Linked DNA regions of Homo sapiens: region 1 is linked to region 2. The links are contacts of gene promoters, found by promoter capture Hi-C in blood cells and fetal thymus (Javierre and others, 2016). All regions are on one chromosome and are shown on one strand. Each heading gives the region's core, a stretch centred on a gene start or on the middle of the fragment in contact. The rest is flanking DNA. Distances are from core to core; before and after follow the strand shown. Region 1 has its middle 4.6 kb from the start of SLC43A3. Region 2 holds the start of OR5B21 (olfactory receptor family 5 subfamily B member 21).

What was found. Contacts are between HindIII fragments. The CHiCAGO score rates a contact against its expected background, and 5 or more counts as called.
Region 1: a contact is called between a fragment that was not itself captured here and the fragment with the promoter of OR5B21 in region 2, in 1 of 17 cell types (total B cells). The highest score is 5.4, in total B cells.

Annotation. Positions count from the first base shown.
Region 1 is chr11:57,429,178-57,434,309 of GRCh38, forward strand. No RefSeq gene overlaps it. Among named protein-coding and RNA genes, the nearest start is that of SLC43A3, 4.6 kb to the left of the region's middle. The HindIII fragment of the contact is 3,624 bases long and covers 1,076-4,699 here.
Region 2 is chr11:58,506,137-58,511,088 of GRCh38, forward strand. It overlaps OR5B21 (olfactory receptor family 5 subfamily B member 21), which reads right to left and starts at 1,969. Exons shown (of 1, transcript NM_001005218.3): 1 at 671-1,969. The coding sequence starts at 1,969. The coding sequence ends at 1,040. The region is part of intron 2 of LOC105369313 (a long non-coding RNA gene); the gene reads right to left. The HindIII fragment of the contact is 6,996 bases long and covers 826-4,952 here.

The sequences.
Region 1 (5,132 bases), core at 1,638-4,137, 1.1 Mb before region 2:
ATCTCACACCTTTTTTTTTTTAATTGACTGATTGGTTCAACAAATACATGTGGTACCTCAGGCTCTGTGCCAAGTGCCGGGATTCGTAGAGAAGAGATTCAGTGCCTGCTCTCAAGGGGCTCATTCTCTTGTGGGAGAGACAGACAAAGAAACCCAAGATTTCTGGAGTGTGGGAATGGTCTTCCAGGCAGATGCTAGCACAGCACATTGAAAGGCACGGAACCTCAACAAAACAATAACATTTAGGAACCAGCTAGAGCACAGGGTGGTGAAGAAAGTGGAAAGATTTGAGGCCAGCGTCGCCATCTAAGTGAGGGCATTAAGAATTCAGCCCACATCAATCAATCATGTCCTATTGATTTCACCCCTTAATATCTCTCCTATCTATCCGTGGCCACTGCTCTATGCAGACACTCATCATCTCTCACAGAGGCATCATCTGCTTCCAAGCCATCGCCATTCTCCTGCAAGAGTTTATTTCCATGGTTCCCACTGGATGGCTTCACTTAACTGCTCAAAACCCTTCTGAGGTCCAGTCAACTGGCTGGTAAGGACCAGTCCAGGGTCTGGGGATGCCAGCCATGAGACATTGCTTTGAGGGGAAGAGGGAGCATAGAACTGGATCTCCTGCATCCTACTGCCCAAGTACCAATGCTGGAGGTGGTTTTCCTTCCCATCATCAGCAAGTCTGGATATCCAGGATCCACCCTATGGATGTTTTTATGGACAGAGTGGGAAGATGGATATGTTTAGGTTAGGGAAAGAGGGTTTGCCAAAGAGGGCAGTATAAGTGAGCTGCACTCCATCATTCCCCTGGCACAAACAATGGCTAGTATCCTCTAGTCCTCAAGAGCACCACCTTCCAATGCAGTCCCTGCCTGTCCACAGACCTCTCTCCTCAAACTTCCTCTGAACAACCTCAGCGAGGGCAATTGCCACTCTCTGGGCAGAGTCCAGATATTCTCTCCTACCCTCTGACATCACTTTCTAAATTTGTATATGTAGATAAACTCTGAGCCATTCACATAAAGGGCTTTGATTTCGGATACGCCAAACACATAAACAAACAAACATAAGCTTTCCTTTCACAATGGGCTCATGTAAATTAAAATGTTTGGTTTTCCACCTACGGTCTTGAAAGGGGTTTCTACAGCCTGTTTTGGAAGTCAGAAAGCAAAAGGTAAATGCAAACATCATTTCACCTGCAGAGAAAATTCTAATCCTCTTGAGGCAGTGCCAAAAATAATACAAGCACACTGCTATCGAGCCAATTACTGGTATCTCTGAGCTTCCGTCTCCTCATCTATAAAATTGGAATCGAGCTGTATGGATTAAAGATAATGTATGAAAACTGCCCAATTAGTACACTATTAATAAATAGCAGCTACTGTTGTTAACAAATATTATTGACTTACTGGAAAACAAAGAGGAAATAAAGTCACATTTAGGGAGAATTTCAAAGTGTTCCTAACCTAAAAAAGAAATAAATTAGGGGGAAAACCACTAAGTAATGGGTGAGCTCAGTTTACCTTGCTTAAGAAGTCCCACCCTAGAGAACTGATCTCTAGATGACACCCAAATGCACTCAGTACAACCCCCCAAGACTGTCTGGGCTTAAGGCAGGGGCTTGGATTGTCCTGTAAGCTGTGGGAAGTCTGTTCATGAGCCACAGTAGACAGGAAGGGGATGGAGTCTTAGAGCTGGCTCTTCAGGGTATCTCCTAGTGTGTTCAAAGCAGTTCTCAGGAGGGTGGGGAACTACTACATAGCCAAGTAAATATGAGGCCTCCTTGCTCTGGGGAGACCTTTCTCTTTAACAGAGGTGAATCTGAAAGGATACCCAAAGAGGCACTGGAGGGTGGGGGCCACTCTGGCCCCTCAGAGCAGCCAGCTCAGCTTCAGTGGATGCTAGAGGCAGCAGAGGATCAGCCTGGATCAGCCTCCCTTTCACCATGCAGAAAACAGAGCTCCCCCACCAGACCAGATACTGGAAGCACTGGGCCAGGCCTAAGAGAAAGCAGAGCCCCAAGCCCCACCACACCAGGGCTTATGAGGCTACTGCTACCCACCCTCCCAAGCCCCAGCTCCACTTCTATGTTCATCAAGCAACTGTTTACTGGTAACTGCACTTCCCGATAGACTTTGCTAGAAAGGAATGCCTCAGTGCACTGACAATATCTAAACCTGCAACTCTAAGGACTAGGCTGGGGAACACTGTGTCAACATGGAGGCACGTCCTACCCCTGAGAAGAAAAATAAGGAATATCAATAATACCTGCTGGGCACTGAGCACTGACTATGTATCTGATTCGAAGCGCTTTTTGCTTAATCTGTCACTGAATCTCACGATAGGTGTTGTTATTAGCATCTATTATCTGGGCCAACTGAGGCCTAGAGGGACGAAGCAACTCCCCCAACATCACCAGGTAGCAGTGTCAGGACTGGGATAGAAACCTGATGCTCTGACTGAAACTAATGCTTTTTTTTTTTTTTTTTTTTTTTTTTTTGAGACAGCATCTCACTCTGTCACCAAGGCTGGAGTGAAATGGTGTGATCTCAGTTCACTGCAGCCTCCACTTCCCAGGTTCAAGTGATTCTCCTGCCTCAGCCTCCCGAGTAGCTGGGATTACAGGCGTGCACCACCATGCCCAGCTAATTTTTTTGCATTTTTTGTAGAGATGGGGTTTCGCCATGTTGGCCAGACTGGTCTCAAACTCCTGGGCTCAAGTGTTCTGCCTGCCTTGGCCCCACAAAGTGCTAGGATTACAGGCGTGAGCCACCATGCCCAGCCAGCTGATGCTCTTAATCTGTGCCCTACCCAGCCTTCCTGGGAGGCTTCCCAAGAGCTACACAGAGCATGAGTTCTGGAATCGGGTTGATGGGGGTACCAGTTATTACTAATAGGAATGAAGATGGGTAATTCTTTCAGACAGCACCCTTGATTAAAACAAGAGAGTAGTGCTGCCTCTCTGTGATTCTGTGTCTCCCTGCCCTGCTCACACAGACACCACACCCACCCACACGCATGATCATGAAAAGAGGAAATGGATCCAGGAGAAGGAGACGACTCCTGAGTGAAAACAACGGGGTTTTTCACATTGAGAGCTTTGCCCAACACCCCAAAGATGAAAAGAGCAGGAAACTGCTGGGGCCGATTGAACACTGGACTTTTGTTGTGGAAAAAGGCAAAGGGAAGCCGGAAGAGACTGGAACAGTTTCCATGGTGCTGGAGGATGGGGAAGTGGGTAGGGATTAGCTGGAGGGAGAAGGAGAAGCTGGGGTGGAGGGGAACCTCCACTTGCCAGGAGAGCACATGTAGGATGGGAACCCCAGATGATACTCAAGGCATGGCATTAGACCAGAAGCAAGTCTGTGGTGAAATTAGGGAAGGCTCCACTGCGGACTGTAGACAGAGCACTGGACAAGGAAGTGGGAGACCCAGGGTCCAGTCCTGGCTCTGGAGCCCCCTGGGTGGGCTGCCCCGGGCACCTTTCTCTCTTGGGGCCTCCATTCCTACCTCTGTGAAGCGAGTGCTGAACCTCTCTTAGCCCTGACTTGCTGAAATGCTGGGACTCTGTACAGAGGCTGACATTAAGCAGGGATCTGTCGTGGGGTGCTGCAATGTTCCTCCAGATGCTGCACGGGAGAGGGCAGAAAAGGCCTATATGGTGAGTCCGCCCTGGGAGCCTCTGCTTGGAAGCTGAAGTGGCCTGAGAGTGACTCAGAAACCACGGAAGTTCCCGGGGCTGATGGGTTCTTATAGATTGTACATGCAGCTCTCCTCGTGGGCTGCAAAACCGCAAGATGGGCTGTGACCACTCTCAAGGAAAGAGCCCTATCTGCAAAAAGCATTCTGCCCTCCAGGTCTTAAAGCAAACACAGACTCAATCCTTATTCCTTTTAAGACAAAATTGCCTCAGGGGCATCAGGGAGGCAGCAGGCCTCAAATGTGTGCCTTTCTAGAATTCTCAATGAAAGCACCCTTTTGGGTATTAATAATGACAACAGTAATGACAGTCATTTACTGAGTGCTGCTTTTGGGACAGGCATTGGGCTAAGAGCTATATGTAATATATATTATTATTTGATGCCCACAGCCACCCCATAAGGAGGCGGAGGTACTATCATTATGCCAACTTTAAAGATGAAGAAACTGAGGCCTCAAGAGATGAAGTAACTTGGCCAAGTCACTCAGCCAGTAAATGGGAAGAGATAGACTTCCCAGTATCCAGAGCCCATGTTTTCACCATTATGCTGAAGTACCTCTTTTCCTGTGCCAATGTGATCTGCCTCCAGGAATCCTGTCTTGATGTTCCCTTCCCCATACAGAAGTCCTCTCTGTGTCCTCTTCAGCCTGATAGTATATCTTTTCATACCATTCTTTGGACATCTCTGTTATACTACTCCAATGGTGTTCCCTCCCCTACCCCTCCCTGGGAGCTTAGTTGTTGTGATTAAGTATAGGGGAAATGACCCACACTAAACAAACTCATAAGAGACTGATTGATAAACCTGAAATGCAATTTATTAATTAACACTGAGAAATGAAACCACCCAGCAGATGGGAATCCTAAGGCTGACTGGTCAGCACAATCTCTTTCAGGAAGGACAGGCTTTTGGGAAAGGAAATCAATACCAGAAGGTTCTTTGTTGAGTACAAAGTCAGAGGGAAGGGAGTTGATGGATTGACACATAGGTGAAGCTTGACATACCTCTATAAAGCCTCCATCCTGCCAAGGATCAGAATATCCAAGGCAGGGAGCCATCTGGGTGTCCTCTCCTTTGGACAGTGCTGGATTTTTCTGGATCCTATGAAGATCTTACCTTTCTGGCTGCATTTATCATGATTGTGGAAGGCTTTTTGTTTCCTTGTTTGCTTAGATTAATTTCTGCGTATTTAATAGAACTGAAAGGCAATTTCCCATTGAGACCCACTGAAGAGGAATAATCAATACATACTAGTTGTGTTGCCCTTTGCAGAGAATTCACTTCTGTGTTGTCACTGTATCCTCATGCTTCCTTATAATGGAGGGACAGAGATGGTAAAAACATGGACTTGGAAGCCAGACCGTCTGGGTTTGAATCCTGGCTCTGTTACTTATAAGCTCTGCAACCTCGGGCAGATTACCTAAG
Region 2 (4,952 bases), core at 719-3,218:
TGCTGTTCCTAAGAAGTAAATTTCCAGGCAGGCTTTTTTATTCTTGTAGCATCTAATTACAGAACACCGGAATGCAATGGAGACCCAGAGGTGAGCTGAATTATTGAAAAAGTAAAAGCAAAGACAGTCCAGAAAGCTATTATATATCTTCATAATAGATTCACCAAACTTAAGGGTGCTAAGAAATGCAAGCATTTAATTCAGAAAACAAATATATTTTTTCATAGCTCTAGGGAAAACTGCTTTTTTTCTCTAAACCTTCTGGAAGTTTTGGTAATTATGTTAGACAGAGACAAGAAACATAAAAGATAGTGTAGGCTCTCCGAAGGAAGTTGTATTTAGTCAGGTTAAAGTTGAAGTAATTCATCTATTAAAGCATTCCCATATTTCTGTATATAACAAGGTGTAATGTTTCCCCAATGATTTAGCAAAAGGGAATGGAAATTACAAAGGCACATGACTAGTGAGTAGGATAGGAATGTGGGTAGAGAAGGGAGAGTAAGGGGTTGGAAAGATTTAATCGTCAGCTACCTGACTCGATCTAGTGCCTTGTCCTTTAAATTACAACTTTCTCTCAAATATCATTTAAAATATTGAAACATCCTTTGTCTACCTCAGAAAGTCCAACTTTCAAACTCGCAGAACAAAAGAATAAAAAAGATACTGTGTGTTCAGTTGATAAAAATGAAGGTGAAATCTTTACACCAAGTTTAATAGTGAATGAAAAATTCTTACAATTAAAAACAGGATGAGGAAAATTTGGTACATTCATTTGTATGCTTCAATCTTCTGCTTTAAACCACGTCAAGAAACTAAAGCAAGAAAAGCTTAACTGTCCCATGTTGTTGTTCACTAAATATAAGATTATCTTTCTAAGTAAGACTTTCAACGTGCTGCTTTTTACATCTTCTAATAGCAGAAGTAACCGCTGTTCTTGGGGAAGAAAGAACTGAAACCAGTCAAACGTTAAAAGTCATGATGGCATTTAGGTGTGAGAGAAAGTTTATCCCTTAATTGCTTGCCTACTTCCCATTCACATTTAATATTGGGGGTAAAGTTTGTTGAGTATTTTCCAGAGAGCACTTTTCACTTCTTTGTTCCTAAGGCTGTATATCAAGGGATTCAGCATGGGAATCACCACTGTGTAAAACACAGAGGCTATTTTGTCTGTGTCCACGGACTGGCTGGAGTTGGGCTGTAAGTACATGAAGATGATTGTGCCATAGAAGATGGACAAAGCAGTGAGATGGGAAGCACAGGTGGAGAAGACTTTCTTCTGCCCTTCAGCAGAATGCATCCTCTGAATGGTGATGCATATGAAGAAGTAAGAAATAAGGATGACCAGGAGGGTGAAAAAGACGTTGAAGCCTGCCACAAAGACCACCAACTTGCTGATGCGTGTGTCAGAGCATGAGAGAGCCAGGAGTGGGGGAATGTCACAGAAGAAATGATTAATCTCATTAGAACCACAGAAGGAGAGTCTGAAGGTGCCTGCTGCATGGATAGAGGCATTGAGGAAGCCAGAGACATAGGAACCAGTAGCAAGGAGGGCACACACACCTGCTGTCATGGTGGTGGTGTAATGAAGAGGCCTACATACCGCTGCATGGCGATCATAGGCCATGGAGGCCAGGAGGTAGCACTCAACAGTGGCAAACCCCACAAAGAAGAAGAACTGAGCTGCACATCCATCGTAGGAGATGGCCTTGTCCCCTGACCGCAATGCAGCCACCGTTTTGGGGGCTACAGCTGATGAGTAACCCAAGTCTACAAGGGAGAGGTTACTGAGGAAAAAGTACATTGGAGTGTGGAGATGGGAGTCTGAGTGGATGATCACCATCATTCCCCCATTCCCAAGCAGGGTGATGAGGTAGATGAATAAAAATGCCAGGAGGAGGGGTATCTGAAGATTGGGGTCATCTGTTAATCCCAAGAGGATAAACTCTGTCACTTCTGTGCTATTCTCCATTGTGGCCAGCTTGAATTAGCCTGGTGATTAAAGAAGAGGCGTCAACAAAATTCCAATGAAAGTATGAGAAGGGAGGATGGAATGATAAAAAAGGAGAAAACTAATGTATAGAGAGAATGTACTGTGTGTAACACTCATCCTAGAACCCTCTGTTATATTATAGCTTTTAATTCATATGAGATAGGTGCTATTATGCCCATCTTACAGATAAGGAAGTTAAGGCTCAGGGAGCTGAATATTGAGCAAGATAGCCTATCTAGGGGTCAGAATCAAAGTTCACCCCTTTATATTTCTGAATCTAAAGTTCATACATTCATCTTGAATTCTTTAACACATTTACATCATATAAATACAAATTATGATGTGGATATAAGATTGTATGTATTTAATTATTAAAAATAAAAACATCCATCACTTATTGTCTTCCACATTCTACTTCCAATAATATAGCCTCACTAAAGATTTTCTAAATTTATTTTTCCTTAAAACAACACAAGTTTATTCTCTCAAAATTCTGGAGGCCAGAAGCCTCAAATCAGTTTCACTGGGCCAAAATCAAGGTGTTGGCAGGACAAGGTGGTGCCCTCAAGGTCTGTTTGATACTAAATCCAAAGATCTTAACCACAACTTTTGAAGCCTTTATAAATTAATCCCTCAACAGTAGTTCAACTGAAAGGGAGTATGGTATATGTAAATATGAGTATGTATTTATATATATTTAATATAAAACTATAAATTTGATATATACAAATGGCTTTGTGTATCTGTGTATATGCATATGTCTTTTTTCACCCCTTATCAGAAGTCTTTGCTGTAGACCCTAATTCCAGTTAAGTCCTCCTTTCTCTCCCTCCTCAAAGCACTTGAGTCTTGGCTGATTATTGCACAATTAGCTGGGCAACCACTCACTCTTCACCTAGCTCTAAGCCCCTTGGGACAGTAACTATCTTCATCCCCTCTGGTCCACTCTCCTTACCATGGCCCCTCACACATGTATGTAAATATTTGGTGAATCAAACAGAACATCAATAGGAAAGTATGGAAATATTTTTCATGCTCTTTAATCCCACAACAAACATCCTATCATCCTCTTGTCTACCAGGTTTGTGCTTTGGGCCAAAATATTAGCTTAGACTTGTCATATGAAAAATATTCAGGAGTAACAGTGAGTTTGCAGATGGTCAGGCCTGGAGACAGGTTTCTGTCCTCATTTTAGAGCATTCTTTCTCTCCTATTTTTGTTCCTCAACCTGAGGTGTTCACAGGCTTTCCCCACTCCTAGTAGCAGAGTGAGTGGGAGCAGACTCAGAAGAAGTGAGGGAGAAAATGTGAGAAGAGAGGAGGAAAAAGGAGAAAACAGGAATTAAAGGAGAAAAATGCTTCAGCTCTGCTGGACTTTAGCTTACCTTGAAGAGTAACAGCAGCAATTTGATTGGTGACACAAAAAGAAGGGGATAGTGTAGCTTGTCCTTTTTGGATGACCATCACACACACACGATGTGGCTAGTTTCATAAGAACTGGCTCAGTCAGCTTGGTACATTACTATCCAGTAATGTACTAATTGACTTTCTGACCAGCATCACTTTCTATTATATTTATCCAGCCTTTTTTAACTTGTTTTTCTTTTGACTTTTGACATGTGTGTATACTCTCAAATTTAGCAAACACAATATCCTGTAATCTATGACAGGCAGTGTTCTGATCTTACATATTTGGAAACAGAAGGATGTGGTGCCCCTCAAGGTCACATAACTGCTTAACTGTAAAATCTGTACAATTCCAGAGCCTGGTTTTTCAGCCTCAGCACTACTGACATTATGAGCTGGACAGTTCTTTGGTGCAGGGTGTGGTGGGGGAGAGGGAGTGCTGTCCTGTGCATTGTAAGATATTCAGCAGTTTCCCTGGCCTCTCTCTAATCACTAGATTCCAGTAACACCACCACCTCCCATTTGTAACAGTCAAAAATGTCTCCAGACGTGGCCAAATGTCCCCTGAAGGGTAACATTCCCCTGATTGAGAACCACTGTTCTAGAGCTTTTAAAAAACAGTGGTTCTAAAGTTTATAAAACTCTTTTTGCATTCACTTCTTAATTTAATTATTGCATGACTAGATAGAGAGAGAGAGAGATAGCAGATATAGACATGAAGAAACCGAGGCTCAGTGAGGTGAAGTGACTGGTTTAAAGTCTAGAACTCTGGCCAAATATTGCTGCTTATTGGTAGAGGGATCCCAGGAAGGGATAACTGCTTGCTAAGTACGTGGTCCTTTGACCAAAGAGATACCAGTCCTCCCATATTGTAAACCAACCTTTTCCTAGACACAAGGTAGGATGAAAACCTGGAAAAATTCCAAGAATAAAATGCAGCTGACTTAGGGTGGATTCTGAATTATTTTCCAAAATACCTTCTGAAATGCTTATTAGATCAATCTCCTTGGTTAATATTGACCACAGGAGTCTATTCACTTAAGCTGTACGTTCAGTTTTTAAAAGCCATTACACCCACCCCCCCGCCCCCGCCATATTGAACTGTCCCTGACTGCCATGTTCCTCTACCGGCAATTAATATTCAAGGTACTTTCTGTGTTCCGTTAATGGGCAACCCTTCCGTTTATGCATTGCAGTCTCTGTTAATAAATGTGTTGAGATCCAGAGCAGCAAGGAGAAATCTGGAGTCAGTGCAGAGAGAAAAGGCCTCATTTACCCAGCACCAAGCCTGGGAGGCTGCAAGGCCTGAATCCAAATCCTGCTGCTGCTGCTGTATCTCCTCCCACTCAAGTCCTGTAAAACCCAGGCTTTTCTGCATGGACCTAAAATAAATATCGGAAGGAGTCTTGAAAGAGAAAAAATATTTTTAAAATATCTACGGTTGAATACTGAAATATCTAAGGTTAAAATATTAAGTCAAAACCTGAAAAAGCATTAAAATTTAAGGAATTATTATTGTTATAAAGAGAGAAGGAGAAGTCTAAGCCATTAAGATA